Regions from separate parts of the Homo sapiens genome. Here regions 1 and 3 are each linked to region 2. Evidence: promoter capture Hi-C in 16 types of primary human blood cells and fetal thymus (Javierre and others, 2016). All regions are on one chromosome and are shown on one strand. Each heading gives the region's core, a stretch centred on a gene start or on the middle of the fragment in contact. The rest is flanking DNA. Distances are from core to core; before and after follow the strand shown. Region 1 holds the start of TUFM (Tu translation elongation factor, mitochondrial). Region 2 holds the start of BCL7C (BAF chromatin remodeling complex subunit BCL7C). Region 3 holds the start of ATXN2L (ataxin 2 like).

Evidence for each region. Contacts are between HindIII fragments. The CHiCAGO score rates a contact against its expected background, and 5 or more counts as called.
Region 1: the fragment with the promoter of TUFM here is called in contact with the fragment with the promoter of BCL7C in region 2 in 1 of 17 cell types (fetal thymus); the score reaches 6.0 in fetal thymus.
Region 3: a contact is called between the fragment with the promoter of ATXN2L here and the fragment with the promoter of BCL7C in region 2, in 1 of 17 cell types (non-activated CD4 T cells). The highest score is 7.4, in non-activated CD4 T cells.

The regions. Positions count from the first base shown.
Region 1 is chr16:28,845,084-28,849,923 of GRCh38, reverse strand. It overlaps TUFM (Tu translation elongation factor, mitochondrial), which reads left to right and starts at 3,576. Exons shown (of 10, transcript NM_003321.5): 1 at 3,576-3,706; 2 at 3,818-4,012; 3 at 4,444-4,610. The coding sequence starts at 3,655. It also overlaps a transcript of SH2B1 not described here. RefSeq lists an enhancer at 3,225-3,714. The HindIII fragment of the contact is 15,792 bases long and covers 1-3,804 here.
Region 2 is chr16:30,890,865-30,895,522 of GRCh38, reverse strand. BCL7C (BAF chromatin remodeling complex subunit BCL7C) reads left to right here and starts at 1,446. Exons shown (of 6, transcript NM_004765.4): 1 at 1,446-1,670; 2 at 2,233-2,311; 3 at 2,575-2,683; 4 at 2,776-2,937. The coding sequence starts at 1,579. MIR762HG (MIR762 host gene) reads right to left here. Exons shown (of 3, transcript NR_110942.1): 3 at 303-975. It overlaps MIR762 (microRNA 762), which reads right to left and starts at 1,620; the gene lies at 1,538-1,620. RefSeq lists enhancers at 1-245, 1,989-2,318, 1,857-2,489 and a silencer at 1,129-1,608. The HindIII fragment of the contact is 7,734 bases long and covers 1-1,912 here.
Region 3 is chr16:28,821,497-28,825,858 of GRCh38, reverse strand. It overlaps ATXN2L (ataxin 2 like), which reads right to left and starts at 2,860. Exons shown (of 22, transcript NM_007245.4): 1 at 2,301-2,860; 2 at 457-493; 3 at 179-235; 4 at 18-89. The coding sequence starts at 2,599. It overlaps LOC124903672 (a long non-coding RNA gene), which reads left to right and starts at 1,817. Exons shown (of 2, transcript XR_007065042.1): 1 at 1,817-1,965. RefSeq lists a silencer at 1,654-2,803 and enhancers at 3,124-3,333, 2,845-3,581. The HindIII fragment of the contact is 7,883 bases long and covers 1-4,362 here.

The DNA of each region.
Region 1 (4,840 bases), core at 2,327-4,826, 2.0 Mb after region 2:
TGAGACAGAGTCTCGCTCTGTCACCCAGGCTGGAGTACAATGGCGTGATATCGGCTCACTGCAACCTCCGCCTCCTGGGTTCAAGCGATTCTCCTGCTTCAGCCTCCTGAGTAGCTGAGACTACAGGCGTGCACCATGCCCAGGTAATTTTGTATTTTTAGTAAAGACGGGATTTCACCATGTTGGCCAGGCTGGTCTCGAACTCCTGGCCTCAAGTGATCCGCCTGCCTCGACCTCCCAAAGTGCTGGGATTATAGGTGTGAGCCATTGTGCCCAGTGCATCCATAATATTATCTACCAAACAATATTCTTTTAAGTTGATCTGTTTTTTTAAAAACTTGATTATTATGCCAGTTTTTTTTCAAGCTAATACACATTAAAATAAATATAGCACCACAAAAATATAAACCATTAATTCAAATACCACCCCCAAAAACTCATAACTTGCTAGTGGCCAATAGTGTCTTAGGATAAATTCCTAGGAGTACAGTGACTTAGGTACAGAGTAGAAACAGAAAACCCTTTTAGGCTGGGCACAGTGGCTCATGCCTGTAATCCCAGCATTTTGAGAGGCCAAGGTGGGCAGACGGCTTGGGCCCCGGTATTGGGAGACCAGCCTGGCCAACATGGCGAAACCCCATCTCTACAAAAAATACAAAAATTAGCCAGGTGTGGTGGTGTATGCTTGTAATCCCAGCTATTTGGGAGGCTGAGGTAGATTGAGCTTGGGAGGCTGAAGCTGCAGTGAGCTGTGACTGCCCTACTATGCTCCAGCCTAGGAGACCCAGCAAGGCTCTGTCAAAAAAACAAAAACAAAATCTGTTTATACTACACATGATACCAGCCTTTCCTAAGCAGAACTGATTAACTGGAGGGCCAGGAAGAGAGAAGTCTTAGCAAGTTCCTCACTTTATCTGAGCAGTAAAATGAGAGTTAAATTATAGTACAGTCTGGCTGGGCATGGTGGCTCACACCTATAATCCCAGCATTTTGGGAGGCCAAGGTGGGTGGATCACTTGAGGTCAGGAGTTCAAGACCAGCCTGGCCAATATGGTGAAACCCCGTCTCTATTAAAAATACAAAAATTAGCTGGGCGTGGTGGCAGGCGCCTGTAATCCCAGCTACTCGGGAGGCTGAGGCAGGAGAATCGCTTGAACCTGGGAGATGGAGGTTGCAGTGAGCCGAGATCGTGTCACTGCACTCCAGCTGGGCAACAGAGTGTGACTCTGTCTCAAAAAAAAAAAAAAAAAAAAAAGGACAGTGCGGTGTGCACACTTTTTGGGGTTTAGTGGTGGTGGATTCCTTAATCACCCTGACCGTCAGTTTTCACACCTGCAAAATGGAGGAAATAATAGTTCCTACTACCCAGGGTAGCACTGGGAGCGCTGATTGTGAAACAATAGGAATGCCTGAACATCATAAAGCTCTAGTTCAGAGTTTCCTAAACTCCTCTGAGTTTTCATTTGAAAAAAAATTTTTTTTTTTGGAGACGGAGTCTCGCTGTGTCGCCCAGGGTGGAGTGCAGTGGCACCATCTCAGCTCACTGCAAGCTCCGCCTCCCGGGTGCAAACAATTATCCTGCCTCAGCCTCCTGAGTAGCTGGTACTACAGGTGCACACTGCCACGCCCAGCTAATTTTTTGTATTTTAGTAGAGACAGAGTTTCACCGTGTTGCCCAGGCTGTTCTCGAACTCCTGAACTCAAGCAATCCACCCGCCCGGCCTCCCAAAGTGCTAGGATTACAGGTGTGAGCCACCACGCCTGGCCAAAATATTTTTATAGAGATGGGGTCTTTCTTGGCTGAGCGTGGTAGCTCACGCCTGTAGTCCCAGCACTTTGGGAGGCCACAATGGGCGGATCACTTGAGGTCTGGAGTTCGAGAGCCGTCTGGCCAACGAGGTGAAACCCCATCTGTACTAAAAATACTAAAATTAGCCAGGCGTGGTGGCACATGCCTGTAGTCCCAGCTACTCAGGAGGCTGAGGTGGGAGAATTGCTTCAACCCAGGAGGTGGAGGTTGCAGTGAGCCGAGATCGCCCCATTGCACTCCAGCCTGGGCGACAGAGTGAGACTCTGTCTCCAAAAAAAAAAAAAAAAAAAAAAAAAAGATGGGGTCTTTCTCTGTCACTCACGGTGGGGTGCAGTGTCATGATCATACCTCACCACAGCCTTGAACTCCTGAGCTCAGGCGATCCTCCTGCCTCGGCCTCCTGAGTAGGAGGGGCTATAGCTGCATGCTACTGTGCCTGGCTAATTTTAAATTTTTTTTTGTAGAGATAGGGTCTCCTAATCTGCCCAGGCTGGTCTTGAACTCCTGGCTTCAAACCGTCCTCCCACCTCAGCCTCCCAAACTGCTGGGACTATAGGCTGGCACTATAGCCACCGTGCCCAGCCTCTTCTCAGTTTTAGAAGAGTGTTTGTTATATAGCTTCCCAGTCTGTGCATAGACCCCACGGAATCATAACCTCCAGGGGAGGAATTAGGGAATCTATTTGAAACAAACACTGTCCACTGAGTCTCAGGATCTGATGAGTTCCGAAACATTAGCCAGGGTTAAGCAGCCATAATTAACACTTTGGAGTGCCCTGTGGAAGCTGCCATGAGATGATGGATGTGAAAGTTAAGGGACATTGACTACCCTTGCACCCATTCATTCAACATTCACTGCATGCTCCACCCTGTTAGGTGCTGGGGACACCGACAGATTAAAGGAGACTCAGGCTCCCCTTAAAGGCTCCCCTAGCTGGCTCCTCATCCTTGGCTCCTCATCTGCAAAATTAGATGGGTGGGGCGATGCCCAACGGAACTGCTCCTTAGGCTGCTGAGGGACTACAGGGGTGGGCAGCGAAGCTGTCTGTCTTGTGGGCTCTGGCCCTGTGAGGTCTAGCAGTACAGGGTCCCCGCAAGCTGCCTGACCTCACAGGGCCCAACACTGACTCCTACCCAGTTCATCTCCTCTCAGGGCTAGATGTCAGGCTCTCCCTATGAAGTGGATACTACTATTCCCATTTTACAGATTAGAAAACAAAGTCTCAGCGAAGAGGGAGGTCACACTTCACCCCATCCCCGAAAGGCGTCCAGGACCTGGTCCCCTACCTCCAGCTGCGGCAGAGGCGGCCAGATATCTCGCAAGACCCGCGTAGCGAGTCGGACTCCGGGGGACTCGGGGTCTCTCTCTGCCGGGCCCAGGAGGAGGTTCCTGAGCAGTCGGAGCCGCAGCTGCCTCCCGGAGCCCGAGCCCCTCCCTCCGGGTCCGGCCTAGCCCGCCTGACTCCCACTCTGATCACCTCCACAGCCCGCCGACCTGAGAACTACTACGCCCATGAGCCTTCGCGGCGCCGGTGATTTAGGGGACGCTCCTCAGTGCCCCCTGCGACCGCCAGAGAGAACTACGTTGCCCCTCAGCCCGAGAGGCGCGAGTGGTGGAAAACCTCTCCATCATACTCCGCCCTCGAGACACCAGCCCCCTCCATGACGTCTTCAGCCGCGCGCCCGACGTCGGCTGAGACGGCCATAGACACTGGCGGCTAGAGGGGCCCGGACTTGCCCTCCCAGCTCTAACTTCCGCCGGAAGTGCCTTCCAGCCGCAGGCGCCCTTCTTCTTCTGTGCGCTCGGGCTCCTGGTCCCGGCTCCCCGGTTACCGGGGCGCGAGTATGACCACAATGGCGGCCGCCACCCTGCTGCGCGCGACGCCCCACTTCAGCGGTGAGTGGTCAGGGAGGGCGATGGCGGCCCAGGAACACTTTGGGGGAGTGGTAGGTGGCTGGGTTCGGTCTGACCCCTTCCCTGCCTGACTCCAAGCTTCGGTCCCGGCAGGTCTCGCCGCCGGCCGGACCTTCCTGCTGCAGGGTCTGTTGCGGCTGCTGAAAGCCCCGGCATTGCCTCTCTTGTGCCGCGGCCTGGCCGTGGAGGCCAAGAAGACTTACGTGCGCGACAAGCCACATGTGAATGTGGGTACCATCGGCCATGTGGACCACGGGAAGACCACGCTGACTGCAGCCATCACGAAGAGTGAGTGGGGTTGGGGCGTCCAGCAGCGCCCTATCTACTGATGGGACCTGGAGCCAGGGAGGCAAGGCCAGCAGAGTGTCTGCTGGAGGAGTTTACTGTGGCCCCAAGAGCCCGAATTTGTGCGACAGGTGGATTGGGAGATGCAAGAGACAAATTTCTCCTGAACAGGAAGAACTTTGTGATCCACCAATGGCTTGGGGATCACAAAGTCGTGGGGAATGCTCTGCAAGCAGAGGCTGTACCCTAAAGAAGTCACAGGGCAGACCCTTAAGGCCCTCTAACATTTCTTTCTGACCCACAGTTCTCTCTGCTGGAAGAGTTAGAGATTGGAGGAGGTTATGTATTTAGGTGGGAGGGTTCAGGGGCGTGGTCTAAGCTCTGCCTCTAGCACTGGAACTTTAGCTGAGAGGTGTGTTCTTTTCCTCCTTTAGTTCTAGCTGAGGGAGGTGGGGCTAAGTTCAAGAAGTACGAGGAGATTGACAATGCCCCGGAGGAGCGAGCTCGGGGTATCACCATCAATGCGGCTCATGTGGAGTATAGCACTGCCGCCCGCCACTACGCCCACACAGACTGCCCGGGTCATGCAGATTATGTTAAGGTGAGGGTTGCTGGGACACTGGAGACAGGGCCAGAAGCTGCCTCTTGTCAGGATAAATGTTAGGCTTGTGGGGAGGAGATTAAGATATTCAGTGTTTGGGTATGAGATGGCAGGTTTGTGGTCTTGGCCACGCAGAATGGGTGGTGAGGAGATGGTAGAGAAAGGTGGGCCTGAGTTTCTAACTGCTACACTTGGCTATATGGATGTGAACTGAAGAGCTCGTTGAACTT
Region 2 (4,658 bases), core at 197-2,696:
ATGCACATTAACTAACTCCTGTGTTATAGATGCGGAATAGAGAGAAGTGACTTGTCCAGGGTAACACAGTTAGGTGTGGCACAACTGGGATTTTACCTAAGCAGCTTGGCTCAAAAAAATGCTGTCTTAACCATGCTCCTAACCCCTTATACCCTTAACCTCTGGACATGGTCACGCCCAAATTCACAGACACAACAGCCACACCTTGAAACACACACACACACACAACAGCAGCACAAATTTTGACATGGTCTTATCTGCTGACAAGCCAGCCTCAAATAAAGTCAACAAAGACACACTCATTTTATTTAAGTAATGTACATTTTATTTAAGTCATGTGATGGATTTTCACAGAATACATATGCCCAGGGAACCAGCACCAGATTACACAACAGAACTGGATCAGCTCCCAGAAGCTCTCCCCTCGTCCCCTCCCAACCCTAAGGGCGATCACTATCTTGACTTTGGTGCACTATAAATTAGTTTTGTCTGGTTCTGAACGTAATACACCTGGAACCATCTAGTATGTACTGTTGCATTTGGCTTCTGTCACTCAAGATTTCATCATGCGACTTGTCTATGTTGCTGTGTGTAGCCGGGCATGTCAATCCCGTTGCTGTGTCTATGTGCATGGTAGTGAGTAGGGCATCATTCATTTTCCATTCTGTTGATGGGTTATTTCCAGTTTGGGGCTGTTATGAAAGGGCTCTGAACATTCCCATGCACCCTCTTGATGCTCACACCTACACATTTCTGCTGGGTGTTGACAGCCTAGGAGTGGAACTGCTGGATCACAGAGGTGGCATATGTTCGGCTTCATTAGAAAACTGCCAGTTTTCCAAAATGTCTCTACCAATTTACACTCCCCCAGAAATACAAGAGAGGTCCAGTCGCTCTACTTTCTCGCCTCCACACGGTGCGGTCTTTTTCACTTTAGCCATTCTGGTGGTGGAGACCCACTCGTATTCGCAGCGCCTGGAGCGTAATTGGCACTCAGTTAACAAGACTGTTGAATGAATGGATGACTGAGTAAGTTGGGCGGTGTAGACCAACAGCCTGGCGAGGGCGGACACACGCACGCACTCCACACACAGCGTTTCGCGGACACCCACCGCGGCTCACGCAGCGCAGGACACAGACCCTGTCGCGCACCCCGCGCCCACGTGGTCTGAACACACGGCCTCGGCCCTGCCTCGCGCGTCCGGTCGCAACTCCCGCTCTCCGTCCCCAACTCGCGCGTCCGTCCCCAACTCCCGCTCTCGGCGGCGGGCAGGGGGCGCTGAGCGTCCAGGCGCTCCAAGGGGGCGGGCCCGGGTCGGGGCGGGGCCGGCCGGGCTTCCAGGCCTGGGCTCTGGCCGCCCGCGCCACCGGGCCGCTCCGGGGACAGGCCGGGGCGGGGCGCGGCGGCAGGAAACGGGGCGGGGACTTGCGGAGGCGTTGGGGACGAGAGAGGGCGCGGCCAACTCCAGGGGGGACGGCAGGCCGAGAGCGCGGCGCCCGGGCCTGGCGCGGAGCCTGAGCCCGCCGGACGGGAGGCGGCCCCGCCGCGGGCTCGGCCCCGGCCCCAGCCCCGCCAGCATGGCCGGCCGGACTGTACGGGCCGAGACCCGGAGCCGGGCCAAGGATGACATCAAGAAGGTGATGGCGACCATCGAGAAGGTCCGGAGATGGTGAGCGCTGCTCGGGGGCCAGGGACGGGACACAGCGGGACCACCAGCACCAAAGGCGTCTACGCTGCCCTCGCCAGCTCTGGGCCCCGGGTGTTCGGTGTATCTCCACCCACTAGCTTTGCCCTGGATCCACAGGGCTCTGTCCCCGTTCGCCTGGCTACTCCTGGGGGTCTACAAAGCGTGATCCCCAGCCGTGTCCTCCCAGAGCGGGAGCCCCCTCTTGTGCCCCGCCCCCTAAAGCTTTGACACCCCTCCTGCAGGTGCGCCCCAGGATCTGCAGGGCTCTGATCCCGGGCCAGGCCCATAGCCACGCCCCCCATGTGTGCCCCAGGGGTCCGCAGAGCCAGGGCCCCAAATCATATCCTCTCTCTAGAGGCACCCACCGCCTATGCCCTGGGGTTTGCAGGACTCTCTTCCTCCATGTAACTATGCCCCATTAGCAAAACTGTTGCTATCCTCCTGTGCCTCCTCAACCTCTGCAGGTACCCCCAGATGTGTCCAGCTCCTAGGGGGGTGGGTCTCCCCTCAGGCCTCTCTGACCCAGCCCCCCACCCTCCCACAGGGAGAAGCGATGGGTGACTGTGGGCGACACTTCCCTTCGTATCTTCAAGTGGGTGCCAGTGGTGGATCCCCAGGAGGAGGTGAGCAACCCCCATTCCCACAAGGCCCTGCATCTGTGCAACCTCAGGCAAGTTCCTCCCCACGCTGACCTCTACCTCCAGCTCCCCGAGACCTCAGATGCAGCAGGACAGACGGGAACCATCATTAGCAGCTCCTCCCCTTTTGCCCTCTTTTCTGCTCCACACCCCCTGAGTTTGAGCCCTTTTGCTTCTCAGTGCCTCAGTTTCCTTAGGTGTATGGTGGGGCTTTCCAAGAGCTCTGACCCTAATCCTCTAACCCCCAGGAGCGAAGGCGGGCAGGTGGCGGGGCAGAGAGATCCCGTGGCCGGGAACGTCGGGGCAGGGGCGCCAGTCCCCGAGGGGGTGGCCCTCTCATCCTGCTGGATCTTAATGGTAGGTAGGGATCCTGAAACGCGGGGGGCTGTGGGGACTGAAGGAGTGTACTAGGGATCTCAGGCCAACCATCTCGGCTCTTGCTCCCGCAGATGAGAACAGCAACCAGAGTTTCCATTCGGAAGGTTCCCTGCAAAAGGGCACAGAGCCCAGTCCTGGGGGCACCCCCCAGCCCAGCCGCCCTGTGTCACCTGCCGGACCCCCAGAAGGGGTCCCTGAGGAGGCTCAGCCCCCACGGCTGGGCCAAGAGAGAGGTAGGACCAGGTACCTCCCAGGAGCTCTCTCCTCTAAGTCCTGTCTTCTCCAGAGTCTAACCTACCAGCTCATCCCTATACCTGCTCCCCGTCTTGTGCACCCTCCTCAAGGCGCCTTCCGACTCCTGCAGAATCTCCCTGTAGCTACAGTCTCATTCCTCTGGTCTCTTAGAATCTATACAGACATATCACTGTCTGAGATTTTCATGTAAATTAATTTTTTACTAGTTTATCTTTCTCCTCACTCTCATGTCAGTTTCCTGAATGTTGGGCCCATATTGATCCTTTTTTTTTTTTTTTTTTTTTTTTTTTTTTGAGAAAGGGTCTCGCTCTGTCACCCAGGCTGGAGTAGTATAGTGGTGTGATCATAGCTCACTGCAGCCTTGAACTTCCTGGGCTCAAGCGATCCTCCCGCCTCAGCCTCCCAAGTAGCTGGGACCACAGGCATATGCCACCACACCTGGCTAATTTTTGTATTTTTTGTAGAGATAAGGTTTCACCATGTTGCCCAGGCTGGTCTCAAACTCACTTGCTCAAGCAGTCCTCCACCTTCAGCCTCCCAAAGTGCTGGGATTACGGGTGTGAGCCATCACACCCACACCCGGCCCTCCCCCCCCTTTTTTTTAGAGACAAGGTCTCTGTCACCCACGCTGGAGTACTCTGGTGCAATCATAGCTCACTGCAGCCTCAAACTCCTGGGCTCAAGGGATCCTCTGGCCCCAGCCTCCCAAATAGCTGGGACTCAGGTGTGTGCCACCATGCCCAGCCAATTCTTAAATTTTTTGTAGAGGTAGGGTCTCGCTATGTTGCCAAGGTTGGTTTTGAACTCGTGGCCTGAAATGATCCTCCTGTCTCAGCCTCCCAAGGTGCTGGGATTATAGGCGTGAGTCACTGTGCCTGGCCCTATGTGATCTTGTTCACTACTGTATCCTCAGAATAATATGGGACACATAGTAGGTGCTCAGTAAATATCTGTTGAGTGAATAAATAATAGTGATAGTCATAGGGGTGATTAACAATAATAGGAATAACAACAGCTAGTATTTATTGAGCTCTTACTGTGTGCTAGGTGCCCTGGTAAACACTTTACGTGGTTGGGTTTTTTTCTTTTCTCTTTTTCTTTTCTTTGAGAGAGTTTCGCTCTTGCCAAGGCTGGAGTGCGACGGCACAATCTTGGCTCACTGCAACCTTCACCTCCTGGGTTCAGGCAATTCTCCTGCCTCAGCCTCCTGGGTAGCTGGGAATATAGGCATGAACCACCATGCTCGGCTGGTTTTGTATTTTTAGTAGAGTTGGGGTTTCGCCATGTTGGCCAGGCTGGTCTCAAACGCCTGACCTCAGGTGATCTGCCCGCCTTGGCCTCCCAAAGTGCTGGGATTACGAGCCACCACGCCCAGCCTTTTTTTTTTTTTTTTTTGAGATGAAGTCTTGCTCTGTTGCCCAGGCTGGAGAGCAGTGGTACGATCTTGGCTCACTGCAAACTCTGCCTCCCAGGTTCAAGCGATTCTTCTGCCTCAGCCTCCCATGTAGCTGGGATTACAGGCATGCCACCATGCCCGGCTGATTTTTGTTTTTTTTGTTTATTTGTTTGTTTGTTTTTGAGACAGAGTTTCATTCTTGTTGCCCAGACTAGAGTGCAATGGCACAATCTCAGCTCACCGCAACCTCTGCCTCCCGGGTTCAAGCGATTCTCCCGCCTCAGCCTCTCGAGTAGCTGGGAT
Region 3 (4,362 bases), core at 1,611-4,110, 2.1 Mb after region 2:
AATTTGAGTACACTGACCTTTGAGCTTAGCGTCTTGAAGATACCCTCATAAGTGGTACCATTTTTCACCTTTACATCACAAGTGGAGCCCTGGCAGAGTGGGAAAAATAAGAAGAGTGTCTCCAGAAAGTAGATGCATTACGTTCCTTAAACAACCCGGGGGTTAAGTACCAACTTACCACAACAGCTGTAAGGAAATGCAGCATTCTGGAATTGTTGTAGACGCCTTCAAACACCTGTCAGTTAACATAAGAGGGAGAATTAAAGGAGTAATCAGTCAACACCTCATTTTCTTTTCTAAATGCCCGCCGCACTCTACTCATTCTGCCTTGTGTGTGCCGGGCCCACAGCCCTCCTGAGTACATTAGACTCTATCTAGACCTAATGTGCCCTATATTCCCACATTATGCATCTTTTAGGTCTATGTATCTTAAACAGGGTGGGAGAAGACACTCACAGGTGACTGTGGGGGTCCCTTTCCTGTGCTCTGTCCCCTATAAAAGAAAACAAGAAATTACTTAAGTCTGTTCAAGCCCTCTTAGACCACTATGAAATTAATGTTAAATCCTAGAAGTATATACCACCTGATGATGCTGATTTAGACTACAAAATTGTTAATCAGTAAGATTTTTCTATTTTTTTTGAGACAGGGTCTCCCTCTGTTGCCCAGGCTGGGGTGCAGTGGCGTGATCTCAGTTCACTGTAGCCTCAACCTCCAAGGCTCAAGTGATCTTCCTGCCTCAGCCTCCCGAGTGGCTGAGACTATAGGTACGAACCACCACTCCTGGCTTTTTTTTTTTTTAATTTTTAGTAGAGATGGGATTTCCCATCTGTGTTGCCCAGGCTGGTATCGATCTCCTTGGGCTCAAGGGATCCTCCCACCTTTGCCTCCTAAAGTGCTGGCATTACAGGCGTGAGCCACTGCGCCCGGCCAATAAATAAGATTTTCAAACTGTCACCTTGTAGAGGAAGAAAAAAATAGACATTAATAAGCCAGCAAACACATTTCCTCCAAATGCCAGCAAAAAGATCTCAATCAACAATGGTTGTCAATTGCTCTAAGAACCAACGAGAAAGGGGCTAGGGCTGCAGGCTACCAACAGATCAATGCTACAGTATTAACCAAAAAGCCACGCCAGCTGTGAGGGCAAAAGCTCCAGGAGTGCAGCTTTGGAACTACCTAGCTCAGGTACATTACCTCCCAAACAGAAAAGACAATCATTTTCAGCAGCCTGACGCCTCAAAACTGTGGGAGGAGGGGTATCCCCTCCACACCCCATCCCCTCGACCTCATGACTCATTCAGCCCGTTACCCACTCTGCGGGGATCACCAATCGCCAGGTAACCCTGCTCGTCGCTGGCTGATGTAACCGGCGGTTGAGGGCGAAGAGGGGGCCGCTGGCGGGGCTGGGGGACAGCGCAGCCGCAAAAGCCATCCACCGGGAGGCCTCGCCCGGTCTGCGCCTGCGCACTAAAACCCACGGGACTTTCCGAACCCCCACCTCCAGCGATCAGAGCCCACTGCGCCTGCGTGTGCTGCCACTCTTAATTCCATTAACACACACACACTCGCACAGGAAAAACTGAGCAGGGCCTCCACTACTCATGCACTGCCACCAGACGAGCCCCTCCACGAACTAGTCCCTGCCCTAGGTGTTCCCGGGGCGCGCGAATGCCCGGGTCATGAGACCGAGCATCCACGCGCACGTACGGGAAGGGGGCGCGCGCGCCAGAGGCTCCCGGCCCGCAGTCCTCCCAGTCATCCCTCCTTCCGTCCCCCCGCCCACCTCGCTCCCCTCCTACTGGCCAGACCGGGAAGGGGGAGGCAGCAACCCGCTCCCAAGTCCCTCCCTCCCCATTGGCCAAACTGTGGGCCGCGCGCCCCCCTCCATTGGCTACGGCCGGGGACCCCTTCCCGCAGCAGACTCCCCATTGGCTGAAGCCGGGGACCGCGAGACCCTTCGTGGTAATGGAACCGGGGACCCCGATCAGCTCCTTGCCCCCCCCCAACTCCCCGTTCCGACGGCGCCGGCGGGATGCGCCCCGCCTCCCCTGAAGGCCGGGGCTGCGAGCCCTGACTAGGCCCCGAGAGCCGAGCGCGGCCCCTCAGTGCTCCGGTGGCCGCCCGGGGACCCTTTCCGTCCGACCTGTTCGGACCTGAGGGGGCCCTCCCCCAGCTTCACGGGGACTCCCCACCCAGCCGGTGCCCCTGACGGTGCCGGGTCGGGGTCCGCCCCACCGGAACCGAGCCACAGCCTCTGGGTGGCCGCGGCTCCCTCGCCCGGAGCCCACCCTTCTCACCTGGCGCTGCCGATGGCGGCTGCCCCCGGCCTCTCCTGGTGTTGCTGCGGCGGCGGCGGCTGCGGCGCCAAGATGCCTTCGGCTCCCCGGCGGAGCCCGCTCCCGGCAGCGGCCACAGGCCCCAGGCAGGGGGAGGCGGCCGCTGGAGGCCCGGGAGGAGCCGCAGAGGTGGCCAGCGGCCCCGGGAGGCCGCCGTTGGGAGGGCTGGTGCCCCCGGGGGGCCGACGGGCCACGGCCTGTTGCGTGGGGGGCGGCTGCTGGGGCTGGGAGGGCTGTTGTAGCGGCTGAGGCTTCAACATGATGGCAGCGTCCGGAAGGGGAATTAGAGAGAAGGGAGGGAGAGAGGGGGCCGGGGCTGGGGCCCCGCTGGAGAGCGCGGGAAGCGAGGGGGATCGGGCAGCCGGGGCCCGCCGTGGGCGGGCGGGGGGAGCCCCGCGGTGTCGGGGGTGGAGAGAGAAGACCGCGGCGCGAGGAAGCGCCGCGAGGCGGAAGGGGAGGGGGTCTCGCGGCTGGAGGAAAGCGAGAGGGCGCGAGCCGGGCTGGCGCGCGTGCGCGTCGCCGGGGAGCGGAGAGGGAGGAGCGCGCGGGTGGGAGCTCCCGGGGGGGGGGGGGGGGGGGGGGGGCCAGGAGCGAGCAGTGGCGCGAGGTGCCGCGCACACCGGCGCGGTTAGCTCCCGGCGGGAAAGTGGGAGAGAATCAAGTCGGTGAACCTCGCACCCCTAGCCCTGGGAGTGGGTAAGGAGCGGCGCGGGCGCTCACGCGCGCCAAGGATTTAGGGTCTTAAGGTCTCAAACCGCCTTAGAAGCCGGCGGCCGCTGTCGCTTCACAATGAGCGTGTGAGGCGCAGGGGGAGGAGCCGAAGGCGCCAGAGGAAGGGCCGGCCTCTCCGCCCACGCCGTCGCTGCGTCGCGATGCCTCCGCGGGAGTGTGAGGCGGCACGTCGTGCGTGAGGCTCTTCCGCCACTTGGCGGCCCGTGGGCAGAGCCTTAAGTGCCAAGAAAGTCTCCGGGACTGGACCACCCGAGCCACTGCGCTTTTAGGCAGGTGGTAGGTTTCGCAAGGAGCTACCCTCCACCTTGTTTGCTTTAAGTAAAAGACTGATGAGCATTAGTGATTCGTTTGAGCGTGTTGATCTTTGCAGATAAATTTACGCCTCGTCCTAAATTATTTCAGATTTTTGTGATTTTGACCTAAATTGTTCCTCCATGCCCGAGAATGAATCTTTAAACTGTAATAACAAAGACTGAAGGCCAAAGTTCCGAGTTCAAAATCCTCCACCCGACCCTGCAATGAAGGCAGCTTCATTCATTCAAAATGAGTTGGGCATTGGAGTATTCAGTTAGTTGTTTTGGACACAAGGATAATTAAACTGCTTCCTGCTCTGGAGGAGTTCATGCTAGTGGTGAATTCAGAGAATTTGACGAGATCTAGTAGGTGAAGCACAGAGGACTACAAGAGCAAATGGGAGTGACACCTAATCTTAATCCAGTTTTGGGAGACCCAGATAAGGGACAGGAGGGCCGGGCGCAGTGGCTCATACCTGTAATCCTAACATTTTGGGAGTCCGAGGCAGAAGGATCGTTTAAGGCCAGGAGTTTGAGACCAGCCTAGGCAACAAAGTGAGACTTTGTCTCTACAAAAAAAAAAAAATTTAAATTATAAAAAAAAACTGATAAGAGGGCAGGGGGAGATGGGTTTCTAGGCAGGGAAATAGGATATGACAAACTAAGAAAAACTCAGCTTGTCCTAAGCATAAAATTAAAGGGGGGAAGAGGTAGCTAATCTGGGATCAGGTTTTAAAGGCTCCCAAGTCTTGTAAGAGACACGGACATTATCCTCAAAGCAGTGGGGAGCTTATTTAAGAAAGTGAAAAGAGGCTGGGCATGGTCTGTAATCCCAGTACTTTGGGAGGTTTGAGGTCAGGAGTTTGAGATCAGCCTGGCCAACATGGTGAAACCCTGTCTCTACTAAAAATGCAAAAATTAGCTAGGCGTGGTGGTGCATGCCTGTAATCCCAGCTACTCAGGAGGCTGAGGCAGGAGAATCACTTGAACCAAGGAGG